Regions from separate parts of the Homo sapiens genome. Here region 2 is linked to region 1. The links are contacts of gene promoters, found by promoter capture Hi-C in blood cells and fetal thymus (Javierre and others, 2016). All regions are on one chromosome and are shown on one strand. The core of a region is centred on a gene start or on the middle of the fragment in contact, and the rest is flanking DNA. Distances in the headings are between cores, read along the strand shown. Region 1 holds the start of NKX2-3 (NK2 homeobox 3). Region 2 holds the start of TLX1NB (TLX1 neighbor).

Region 1 (6,060 bases), core at 1,177-3,676:
CGGCTGCAGAGCGTCTGTGGGCGTGTATTGGCGATCAGGCGCTGGAGGGGCGCTTTGTCCTGGTCGCAGTTTTAAGACCTGGATTGTTGGGCTAGATTTATGAAAGGCCTAGGAGCGAAGCGAGATGGGAAGCAAGGGAATGTAACAAGGAGAAATGCAGGCTTCGGTTGGAAACTGGGGAGAGAGAGATTGTTTCGATAGCCTTTCTCCTTTTCTTTTTCCAGAATCATGAAATCACCGAGGAGAAGAAAACTGGGGACTAGAAGAGAGCAGAAACATTTCCCCTGAGACAGTTTTGCCCCGGAGGTGGGGTGGGGAAGTGGCGCTGGAGCTCAGCTTCCTGCTTTTATGCTCGGCGGCCACCGTGATGCACACACACTCGAGGTCCGCCACCCCGCAGTGCCGTGCACCCCTCTGCCCCCACCTCGGAATTTTTGTGCCCGAGCGCTCGGGATCCACGGCAAAACCAGGCACATTCCTCCCTCTGCAGACTCACCGCCTGGTTTGTAGACACTGGTCTCCGCCTGGGGCGTCAATAGTTTCAGGATTTAAAGCAGAAAGACACCGGGCGCCCCTGTGGCTGAGGAATGGCGGTTCCAGCACAAGACCCTGCCCACAGAGGGTCTCTCCCTACTGCCTGCGGGCCGCCGCTACCCTAAGTACTCCGGGGCGCACGTGGCCCGCGCGGCATCCCAGCTCCCCGGGCGGACCCAGGGGCTGCCTCTCCACAACAGTTCCGCTCCCTTCTGCAGAGCCCCGCCTCTCCCACCTCCCGACAGGCTGTTCTTTCTCCCTTCAACCTTGGGCACCCACTCCTGTCGCCGTTGCGGGACCCGCGTGGCAGCCCTCCACCCTCGTACCCACTCCCAGCCGGTGTCTTATGCCGCTCGGAGGCAATGTCCACCGTCCCTGCACCTTTCACCTGCCCCTTCCAGGTGAGACGGGTCTCTTTCAGCTCCGCCATCCTGACCGCCAAAAAATGCTTGGATTGGCTGGGGCCGGATGAGGACAGCCACGGTTGAGCTGGAACCGTTCCCTATTTTTTTAAGGCCAGCGCTGCACACGGGTCTTTCTGTGGCCCTCAAAGCAGCGCCCGCTGCTCCTCACTGGGCTAGGCCTGGTAGCGAGCAAATGCCTATTGTGGGAGAAGATGGTCCCAGAGTTTCCAGCTCAGAGTTTCCAGAATCTGTGGGGGACTGTATAGACTCCCCCAGAAAACAACCAGGGCCTCATGAAGGTGCCAGAAGGCGTGTAGGTAGAGAAATTTTAAAAGCCTGTCGGAGAGGCAAGGCCTACATTCAGGCTCCTGATTTCAATAGGTGGAAAAGAAGGCTGCCAAGGCTGGGTCACCTCCCTTGTGAGGACAGATCCTGCTCTCAGTATGTGCCACACTCCAGCCACGCACCACCAATGCAGTCAACAAACACTGCTTGACCTCCCATACAGAAAAGCAGTCGTTGACACGTACTGAGCGCTTAACACGCGTGAGGCCGTGCACTAAGATTCTGGCATGTTTTGCCTCATTCAACCCTAGCAACAACCAAAAAAGGTATTACTGCCTTCGTTTTATAGACGAGAAAACAGACTTAGAAACGCCGAAGATCACACACTGACTAGGCCAAGCAAGAGCTGTCGAATACCAAAGTTTAGTCATAACTCTATCTTCCTTTCACATACTGCTCTGTGCGGCTGCTGCCAGGGATACAAGGGCAAAAGCAACCCCGGGACACTGCCCTCATGGAGCTTACAGTCTAACTGGGGCGACCAGGCAGGCACATACAGCTATAGAATTAAGTGGGAAGTGATAAGTGACATGCATGTCCTTTGCTAACACAAGCTGCAGGTTCAGAGCCTGAAAGAGGGGACTTCCGGCTAGACGATCTAGGAGCTCTTCCTTGGAGAACAGTTTCCACTCGTGGAGGCTAAGTGTCAGAAACATGTTCCAAGTGGAGAGAAAGCTTGAGCAAAGGCAACAAGTTGAAAAAGGACATGTCGCCCACCCATAGATAGATAAAACACTGCATCTCCTCGTGGATCCAGCGCCCAGTATTTACCCGCCAGGAAGTTTTCCTGCCCCGCGCAGCAGCTGAAAAAAACACACTCCTGGGGCATCCTTCCCTGGCGTTGGTTCGTGGACAGCAAGCCTCCCAGAACTGGCCTAGGTCGGGAAGGTGCAGCCACGCGGGAATCAATGGTTCAGGAACCGGATCTGTGCAGCCTCGCCCGCAGCGTCTCGGACTTCAGGACTCTATACTAGTCCTTGTCTATTTCTGGTAGAGCCGCAACATCCCACTCGCAGAGAGCAGGGGGCGTGGCCCACATGAGCCAGAACCTATAGGGAGGGAGGTTGGGGCGCCAGCCCCGCCCCCCCAACGTGACGCAAATCTCCCGGACAGAGGCTTAGGAGCCCGGGCCCCAGTCCCTGCAGTGGCTGTAACAAAACCCAGACCCCCAGGTCCCGGCCAATGGAGGCGATTTAGACTGGAGTGGGACCGCGTCTGTCAAAAGCCCGACTCGGCAGCAGCGGCGGAGTCCAGGAGGAGAGCTGGAGCCGCCGCGCTGCCTCCCCGCCCCCGCCGGGATTTATTATTTGGACTGGACAATTAAGTGGCCCTGATGATGTTACCAAGCCCGGTCACCTCCACCCCTTTCTCAGTCAAAGACATTTTGAATCTGGAGCAGCAGCACCAGCACTTCCATGGTGCGCACTTGCAGGCGGACTTGGAGCACCACTTCCACTCTGCGCCCTGCATGCTGGCCGCCGCTGAGGGGACGCAATTTTCTGACGGAGGGGAGGAGGACGAGGAAGACGAGGGCGAGAAATTGTCCTATTTGAACTCACTAGCCGCAGCAGACGGCCACGGGGATTCAGGGCTGTGTCCCCAGGGCTATGTCCACACGGTCCTGCGAGACTCGTGCAGCGAGCCCAAGGAACATGAAGAGGAGCCCGAGGTCGTGAGGGACCGGAGCCAAAGTGAGTAGAGGGGGAAAGAAAACGCACCCGCACACCTGGAGCAATGGCAGAGCGCACACAAACAGCCCACAGACCTTGCCAGCGCAGCTGCCCATCCCTTTACCCTTTGGCTGGGGCCATGCCTCCGCCCTGGTCACCGACAGCTCCACAAAGCGCAGGTACCTGCAAGGGAGCCGGGGTGGAGAGACAAGGACGAGGTGACCCTGACAACTACTCCCCCCAAAAGGGGGAAATGAGGGAAGGGAAGGTGGTTACTGCTGCCCTGATGCTGAGAGGCGACGTGGGCTCAGCGCCTGGGTCCTCATAACTGGCAGTATTTTTGCTCTTCCCCCCGCCCCAAAAGGCTCTTCCCCCAAAAAGGGCAGGAGCCTGGACCTTTTTCGTTTTCCCTCTAGGGTGAGATGAGTTCTCTTAGCCCAGGGCAGCCACCCCTTCTTCTCCGAAAAGACAGCCCAAGCAGCCTGTGTCTCTCGCACCCGCAGGGGCAGGAACTTTGGTGGAGGCCAGCTGGGCGGTTTCCTCCCTTCTCTGCTTGGAGCTCAGCGTCCTTGAACCCGTGGCACTCGGTAGAGAGAGAGGAGATGATCGGAAAGTGCGTGGGAACAATGTCTATTCCGCGCGACCATAGCTCTCACATCCCTAAGGCGCCAGCCTTTTTTGAAAATCCGTAACGTTTTGCTTTGTGTCCCAGGCTGCGGGCCTAATAGAAAACGCGCCGAACTTGAGTCCGAGATCTTGGCTGCTCACATCGGATGGGAAGTGAATTGATAGGGAGATGGGATAATCAAATAAAGTCCCCAAGGAAGTGTATTTAAGAGGACAGAATCACAGTCTTTCCCCAAGAGGCGGTTTGATGTGGCAGAGGCCAAGGCCTATGCTCTCATAGTTCCCAGAGCCGAAAATCGGCATGAAACTGTCTATAACTAGTCAATCAAACTTCATTTTCAAAGTGCACACAGATGTCGTCATAACATTCGCTTGTAGTCTTTTATAAGCCACACACACACACAAGTCCCTGAGCCATGCACAAGCGTTACACTCAGAACAGATTTTCGCGCAACCCATGCCCACCGGCCCACTCATACCAACACGCCTCACACCTTCAGTTATCCTTGGTGGAGTAGAATGCAAACGAGTTTGCAAATACTGTAGTTATTATGTAGTTGCAAGCCTTCATCCTGAAAATAGTCATTAGCACGTCGAGCCGCATATTTAATACAGAGTAATCTCTTCTCTCGCAGATGCTCAAGATCCAAATAAACACGCACTAACTACCCCTCTCCACGAAACGCGCCTCCGCCTGCTAAGGGCGTTCTTTGGGTACTGGGGCTGTCTCAGGGTCCCACAGCGCCAGGAGCCACAAACGTTCCCAAAAGTCCAGCCATTTACTACCGCACGCTCTGCGCAGCCACCAAAAAGGGTCACGGTGCTCCAGGACAGGAGCCGCGGTGCGGCCGGGAACAGCTAAGGACGCTGTTGTTTGCTTCTTCCGCAGAAAGCTGCCAGCTGAAGAAGTCTCTAGAGACGGCCGGAGACTGCAAGGCGGCGGAGGAGAGCGAGAGGCCGAAGCCACGCAGCCGCCGGAAGCCCCGGGTCCTCTTCTCGCAAGCCCAGGTCTTCGAGCTGGAACGCAGGTTCAAGCAGCAGCGGTACCTGTCGGCACCCGAGCGCGAGCACCTCGCCAGCAGCCTGAAGCTCACATCCACTCAGGTGAAAATCTGGTTCCAGAATCGCAGGTACAAGTGCAAGAGACAGCGGCAGGACAAGTCTCTGGAGCTTGGCGCACACGCGCCCCCGCCGCCGCCGCGCCGCGTGGCTGTCCCGGTGCTGGTGCGGGACGGCAAGCCGTGCGTCACGCCCAGCGCGCAGGCCTACGGCGCGCCCTACAGCGTGGGCGCCAGCGCCTACTCCTACAACAGCTTCCCCGCCTACGGCTATGGGAACTCGGCCGCGGCCGCCGCCGCCGCCGCCGCCGCCGCCGCAGCAGCGGCGGCCTACAGCAGCAGCTATGGCTGTGCGTACCCGGCGGGCGGCGGCGGCGGCGGCGGCGGGACCTCCGCGGCGACCACTGCCATGCAGCCCGCCTGCAGCGCGGCCGGAGGCGGCCCCTTTGTGAACGTGAGCAACCTAGGAGGCTTCGGCAGCGGCGGCAGCGCACAGCCGTTGCACCAGGGTACTGCAGCCGGGGCCGCGTGCGCTCAGGGCACCTTGCAGGGCATCCGGGCCTGGTAGGGACGGGGCGGGTCACGCGGCGGGCACCCCAGCGCAGCCTGGCGCCGCGGGACTGAAGCTCGAGAAGGGCCTGACCTAAAGGTCAGGTCCCCTCGTTAAAAAAATATGTACGTCTAGCTCCTCAGGGCTTCGGATCGCAGCTCACTCGAGGCCTGGGGAAGGGGACTCAGGGGCGAGGAGGATGACTGGGTCCGGTCGCCAGGACTGTCTCTGAGGCAGAAACGCCGGCTGGGCGCCGGGGAGGACGATGGCCCCGACCCTGGCAGCGAGAGGAGACCAGGAGGCTAGGACCCTGGCCGCGCTTGGTTCTTCCAAAGCGAGAAGGGCTTCTCTCCCTCTGCCTTTCCGCGGCCTCCGCGAAGCGTTGGCGGGGAGCCCAAGGACATAACAAATTAAAAGCATGAAGGAGAGAAAAATGGGGGTCGTGGCTTGAGAAATTCCAGGCCCTACCGATCCTCTGCCCCCTTTGCGGGCCTGGAGCGCCATAGCACAGTCGATTTCGTTTCGCAGCTGTCTCCCCTCCGCAGCAGATACCTCGGTCCAGATCTCCGGATTGTCGGGGGACGCAGGACTCTTCGAGGAAAACCAGCCGAATGAGATCAAAAGTTGGGGGTGGGGGGAGGCTGAACAAACTCAGGACCTGGTGGCCCACCGGAGGTGTTACCGGGTTTCCTTTCTGTTTCGTATTCTGTATTCAGCACATGTTATCTATCTATCTATCTATATAACTATAACCACACGCCGTGTAGACACCCGCTGCCACACACTACAGGAGTCAATAAACAAGGTGCAATATTTTCAAATCGTTGGCCGGCTACAGAATTTGTTTAGCCCCAAAGAGTGGAGAGGAATCC
Region 2 (6,322 bases), core at 1,883-4,382, 1.6 Mb after region 1:
GGGCCCTGGCCCCAGCTGCTCTTCTTTTAATTGGAGGCACTTTTTTATTCTGCAGGCCAGGGGGAGCCGGTGCTTGGGGGGAGGGGTGTTACCAGGTGGCCTCAGAACCAGAGAGAAGGATCTGCAACTCACCTAGGTTCCTGCAAGATAGTCCTGTGAGGCAAGAGCCAAGTTTAGGCTTAAGGAAGCAGCTTGTAGTGAGTGGAGTCAAGAAAGCAGTGTTTGCGTCTGGTCTGCCCCTTTCCAGCTTTCAGTGCCTTGGTTTTCTCATCTGTAAAATGGGGATAACAAAAACCACATCACAGGATTAAAGATGAGTGGAGAGATCATTCTGGTGGCTCACACATGGCAGTTGCTCTGTGAGTCCTGCTTTCTTCCCCTCCCTCCTCGTTCCTATCAGGGCTGTTTTGCAAGGCATGCAAAAGCACGGTGGAAACACAGAAGCTGCAGCGAATATAAACTTGTGTGAGTCTCCTCTCCTGTTTCAGAAAACTTCCCAACCTTGCAACACCGTGCTCAGGTAACACTGCTCTCAGGAGAAGGGGTGGGCGCCAGAGCCCAGCAAATCCTGACCCTCCAGTCTCATCTTTCTAGGTAAGGAAGGGACAGAGAGGGTAGTCTTGGCCCTCAGTAAATACCCTATTGGAAGACAAAGGCTGGGATTAAGCTGACTCACAGAATCCCAGCACCTCATTGAGGGTAAAAGTTGGGAGTATCCCCAATTGGGATAAAAGTTGACTCTGATAAACAAAAAAGGTAGGAGGGGAAAAAGGAAGAAATCCGTCAAGGAAGCGGCTGTGATCGCAGGGGAAAGTCAGTATATCCCTGGGCTGCTGGATTTTAATGAGAAGAGCTTGACAGTCTTAGTGGGCCATGTACAAGGGAGTGGTGACTCTGCCAACCTTAAGCTGGGCCAGGAATGGTAAAGTCTCCTCCCAGGTACCCTGGACAACTGATACCAGATCTGAGGAGTTCAAGAGGTAGATCAGGCAAATGCCAAAAGGGTTGGAAGGCCATCTGAGCTGGAGATGTGCACCTGGAAAGATAGGTGGTTTATTTTATTTTATTTTATTTTATTTTATTTAGTTTTATAAATTTTACCTTCAACCAACCCACACCAAAAGATGGGGTTTTAACTGCAGCAGGTAAAACTGTGGTGAGACTAAAAGGAGTGAGGCCACTAGGACCCAGCCTCAAAAAAAGCTGCAGTACCCTTCCCCATAGTTTTCAGCCTCAAACAAGGAAAATAGCTCAGATTTTGAGATTCCAGATCAATCTTCTCTGTCTATGGAACTTGGAGCAAGTTTGTTCTCTTTACTGAGTCTCAGTTTTCATTTTCTTTTTAGAGATGGGGCATTGCTATGTTGCCCAGGCTAGAGGTGCAATTATAGCACATCTCAGGCTCAAATTCCTGGCCCCAAGTGATCCTCTAGCCTCACCCTGCAGAGCTGCTAGAACTACAGGCACGGGCCACTGCACCCAGCCATTTTTTTCTTTTTAAAAATGAGATATAATTCATGTGCTATAATATTCAGCCCCTTTAAAATGTATAATTCGGTGGGTTTTAATATTTTTAAAAGTTATGTAACCATCACCACTATCTCATTCCAGAATGTTTTCATCACTCCAAAAGGAATTCTGTATCCATTAGCAGTCAATTTCCATTCCCTGCTGCCCCCAGTTCCTGAAAACCACTAATCTATTCTCTGCCTCTGTGGATTTGCCTATTTTGGACATTTCATAAAAGTGGAATCATACAATATGTGGCCTTTGTGCTTGGCTTCTTTCACTTAGCAGAATAGTCTCCTAGGTTCATCCATGTTATAGCATGAACCAGCATTTCCCTTCTTTTCCTTTTTATGGCTAAATAATATTCCATGTGTGGATATAACAAATTTTGTTTATCTATTCATCAGTTGGTGGACATCTGAGTTGTTTCCCCTTTTGGGCTATCATGAATAATACTGCCATGAACATTCATTCAATTCTCTCAATTATAAAAAATTGGGACATTTCTATTAACTTGCCTGGGTTGTTATAAGTCTTAAATGAGATAAGCATGATGTGGTACCTGGCACAAAACTGTCTTTCAATAAATAATTTATTTCTGCTTTAGTTCCCTCAAGATAAGAGGCAGGAAGAGATTCATTCGGGTTCAGACAACTTCCAAAGTAAGTTATGGAACTCCTTGGGAAGGGGTAGAGTACCTGGATTGGGTAAGTGGGAAGAAGAGAACTGGCGAGGGAGCGGAGCCCTCTCATGTTTCTGCTTAGTGTTTTTTTTTGTTTGTTTGTTTTTTGAGATGGAGTCTTGCACTGTTGCCCAGGCTGGAGTGCAGTGGCGCGATCTCAGCTTACTGCAAGCTCTGCCTCCTGGGTTCACGCCATTCTCCTGCCTCAGCTTCCTGAGTAGCTGGGACTACAGGTGCCCACCACCACGCCTGGCTAATTTTTTGTACTTTTGGTAGAGACGGGGTTTCACCGTGTTAGCCAGGATGGTCTCAATCTCCTGACCTCGTGATCTGCCCGCCTTGGCCTCCCAAAGTGCTGGGATTACAGGTGTGAGCCACCATGCCCAGCCTTCTGCTTAGTGTTTACAAACAACTACCAATTTCACATTTGGCTTTGTCTTGAGTGGGCCTTTGTCCACCTGGCTAGAGCTCAGACAAGGTTTTCCCCACAGATACAAACTTCCAACCAGCACGTAGGTTTCCAGGCTAACCCACAAAAGCAAGTTGAGTCTAGCTCCTCCATATTGATCCACACCAATCATAGCTATTCTGAAATGTACTTTCCTCACATCTGTAAAATAGGGAGAATACTCATCTCGAAGGATTGGTGTAGAGTTTATATTGTTCTCCATAATACTAACATCTGTCTTGTTGTATTTGCTTCTTTGCTTATTGTCTGACCCCCTCTATAGAATGTAAGCTTCATGAGGTCAGGACCTTTGTTTTGTTCACTGCTATGTCCCCCATGCCTAGAACAGTGCCTGACACATAGTGAGTACAGTACTCAATAAATATTATTGAATAAAGAGATACATTCTTTGTTATTCACCCAAGATGACCATATTTTGTTGTTTGGGGCTGTATTCTTCAGGAGAGAACAGAAATGAATAAGCCACTCTCTGCCTCCAAGAAGATCTCTTCAAGTGGAGGTGACAGACATGCCCAAAGCAAATAGATTGCAATAAGACTTGATGGGAGAGAATGTGAGTCTTCACATCCTAGCATCTTTCCAGATAGAGACAGGGCCTACCCAAAAGTCTAATCTGAAACTGAACTGAAATAGAACAGAAATAGATCCCAAGTGATGGAACCTGTGCCTTTCCCAAAGCTTGGCTTCTAAAAGGTAGCAAACATTTTCTACTGGAGAGGGGAAAGACAGGAAGAAGAAAAAGGGAGTTTCCTCCTTTTCTCTTGGGCTCTCAGCCAGACAGCCACTGGCAAAACGTTGGAAAGGCCTAAATTTGTCCTGGATGCACTTCCCTGATCCTAGTCCCACCAATCCCAGCCCCCACGGCCTTAAGCCCCTATGGCTCCCTCCCAAGATTCCAAACGTAAGAAAAGAACACACACCACAGTCCAAAGGCTTCTTGTCTGGAATAGCCAACCCTGGGGTAATTGTTAGGTGGAATGCAATCTGGTTGAATTCATTCAAACACTGTAGGAATTGCCTCTTTCGAACCCTGTAGGATTTTACTTCTTGACGCATCTGTTTATTTAAAACCAAAGGGGTATGTTGAGGCATGGGCACCCTGGCAGCAGACCCCAAACCAACCCTCTTGACTTGTGCCTGCCTTTCAGGATATGTTCCCTTCCTGAATTTGTCTAAGAAGGCTGAGTTGGGGGGTGGTTGCTGATTTTTATAACATATAGCCAGTTGTTCATAGGCCTGTGTTTTAAAGAAGGGCAAGCCTGAACTCACCGTCCTGCCTCAGGGCCTGGGCTCCATACCTGGGGAGTAGACAGTCTTCTACTTTCTAAAAAGCTGGACTTGAAATTTGGAGTAAATCTCCTGGTTGAGTGACAGGTGTTTCGCAGCTGAGCCCTTGAGGAGATTCTCCAGTTGGGCAGAGACATCCCTTCCTCAGACGCCTTGTGGGCTGGACTCCTTTGGCCCAGTTCAAAGTGAGGGGAGGGCTCCCAACAGGCCGGGAAGACAGTTGACTTCACCCTCCTTGGGTTTGTCTGTCTGTCCGTCTCTGGGAATGGTCGCTTCCTGTTTTCCCTTTTCCTTTTAAGCCTCGCCTTGTTCCCCTCTTCTCTCTCTTCATGAACTACTCCGAGTCTTGGTCTCCGTCCCTCTATCTCTGGCTCCTGCATCTGTCTCGGCTTCTGGCCTTCCTCTCCCCCTCCCCTCCCCTCCCTCGCGCTGTCATTCACCCCGCTCCTCTCCGCGCACAGCCAATGGAGAGACCCAGTCGAAACCGCGAAGCTCTCTTGCACCGGGCTTTTTCGCCTGGTGATTGATGTCCCAGAGTCAACAGCGAGCGAGCAGCCGGAGCGGGGAAGCAGAAGCCAGAGAGGGGAAGAATACGGCGCCCCCTCTCTCCCTCCCCTCCCCCTTCTACTTTAGCCTTTCTGCGCACTTCGCTTCCAAGTCTCCGCGCAGCCAGGAGCCGCTGTTGCCTCCCAGCCCCTGCTAGCTGCCCCCCGAGCCGAGCGCAGCGAGCGCCGCCGCCCGGGCCCCCCGGTGGGGCCAGGGCCAGCATGGAGCACCTGGGTCCGCACCACCTCCACCCGGGTCACGCAGAGCCCATTAGCTTCGGCATCGACCAGATCCTCAACAGCCCGGACCAGGGTGGCTGCATGGGACCCGCCTCGCGCCTCCAGGACGGAGAATACGGCCTTGGCTGCTTGGTCGGAGGCGCCTACACTTACGGCGGCGGGGGCTCCGCGGCCGCGACGGGGGCTGGAGGAGCGGGGGCCTATGGTACTGGAGGTCCCGGCGGCCCCGGAGGCCCGGCAGGCGGCGGCGGCGCCTGCAGCATGGGTCCTCTGACCGGCTCCTACAACGTGAACATGGCCTTGGCAGGCGGCCCCGGTCCTGGCGGCGGCGGCGGCAGCAGCGGCGGTGCCGGGGCACTCAGCGCTGCGGGGGTAATCCGGGTGCCGGCACACAGGCCGCTCGCCGGAGCCGTGGCCCACCCCCAGCCCCTGGCCACCGGCTTGCCCACCGTGCCCTCTGTGCCTGCCATGCCGGGCGTCAACAACCTCACTGGCCTCACCTTCCCCTGGATGGAGAGTAACCGCAGATACACAAAGGACAGGTTCACAGGTGAGTCCGGCCCGCGCGCTCCCCGCCTGGCCGCGGCCCGGGCTCCGTGCTACCCCTGCCCCGCCGGGTGGCTCCCCAAAGCCGGTTCTGCGCTCCAGGTCGCCCAGCTCTTCTTGGTGCTTCCCCCAAGTTGAGCCGCCCGCCCGATTCTATAACGCAGACTCGCCATGCTTGAAGAGTTCTCTCAGCCTGGACCCCTCTCTGTCTCCCGAAGGACCCCTGCTCGGAGGAGCTCTCCCTGGTCCCCTCTCCGGATCCACTAGCCGGGTCAGGCAGAGAGAAGGAGGCCATAGATTCAGGACCACCTTCTGCAGCTACTCTTGGCCTGGGAATCTTAGAGAAAGGGGTGCAACGTGAACAGTTTCTTCCGTCCTGGCTGCTGTTCTAGGACCCAGGAAGCGAGCCCCAGGATCAGACACAAGAAAAGAACAGGTTCCCCCACCTCCAGTCCCCTACACACATGCACTTCGCGCCCCTAGCTCCGGTGCCCGTGGTGCTGCGGGGCCAGTGGGGGCTCTGAGCCCCGGTAAATCAGCAGAACCAGTGGCCTTTTTTTTTTTTTCCGGAGAGCAGGCTTCATCTGGGAGGATGGCAGCGGGGCTTAGCCGCCCAGGACAGCTAGCTTTTCATTTTCGTTCTCTCCCGGCTGGGTGTCCTACCCCGGGCCCAGCCCTGTTATCTTGGGCACGAACAATGCACCGGTAGGCTGGTGATCGGTGGCGGGAAGACTACTCCCGGGACATTGGGTACTAAGTGGTGGCCGCTGCCGCCTTCTCTGCTGCCCGCTCCCGCCTTCCTCTGCTGGCCCTGGCTCCCTCTGCTCCCGTTTCCACTCTGGGCACTCAACTCTCCCTCTGGCGTGGATCCCTTCCCCCGTTCTCACTTTCTGCTCCCCTTAGGGTTCCCTGGATCCTAGACCACGATCCTTCCGTCCGGGCTGGGAAGCAGCCACAAATTGAGCCCAGGTTAGCCAGCCGATCTTAGAGAGAGGAGGCAGGAGGCACTGGCTGCTGCTGGCAGAGATGGGGCCTCCTGGGGGT

Evidence for each region. Contacts are between HindIII fragments. The CHiCAGO score rates a contact against its expected background, and 5 or more counts as called.
Region 2: a contact is called between a fragment that was not itself captured here and the fragment with the promoter of NKX2-3 in region 1, in 1 of 17 cell types (naive B cells). The highest score is 9.6, in naive B cells.

The regions. Positions count from the first base shown.
Region 1 is chr10:99,530,516-99,536,575 of GRCh38, forward strand. It overlaps NKX2-3 (NK2 homeobox 3), which reads left to right and starts at 2,427. Exons shown (of 2, transcript NM_145285.3): 1 at 2,427-2,974; 2 at 4,470-6,009. The coding sequence starts at 2,617. The coding sequence ends at 5,206. It overlaps LINC01475 (long intergenic non-protein coding RNA 1475), which reads right to left and starts at 662. Exons shown (of 5, transcript NR_120618.1): 1 at 497-662. RefSeq lists an enhancer at 1,757-2,648 and a silencer at 4,790-4,939. The HindIII fragment of the contact is 5,996 bases long and covers 1,957-6,060 here.
Region 2 is chr10:101,126,828-101,133,149 of GRCh38, forward strand. It overlaps TLX1NB (TLX1 neighbor), which reads right to left and starts at 4,319. Exons shown (of 3, transcript NR_130723.1): 1 at 3,959-4,319; 2 at 133-271. It overlaps TLX1 (T cell leukemia homeobox 1), which reads left to right and starts at 4,473. Exons shown (of 3, transcript NM_005521.4): 1 at 4,473-5,282. The coding sequence starts at 4,715. The HindIII fragment of the contact is 408 bases long and covers 2,929-3,336 here.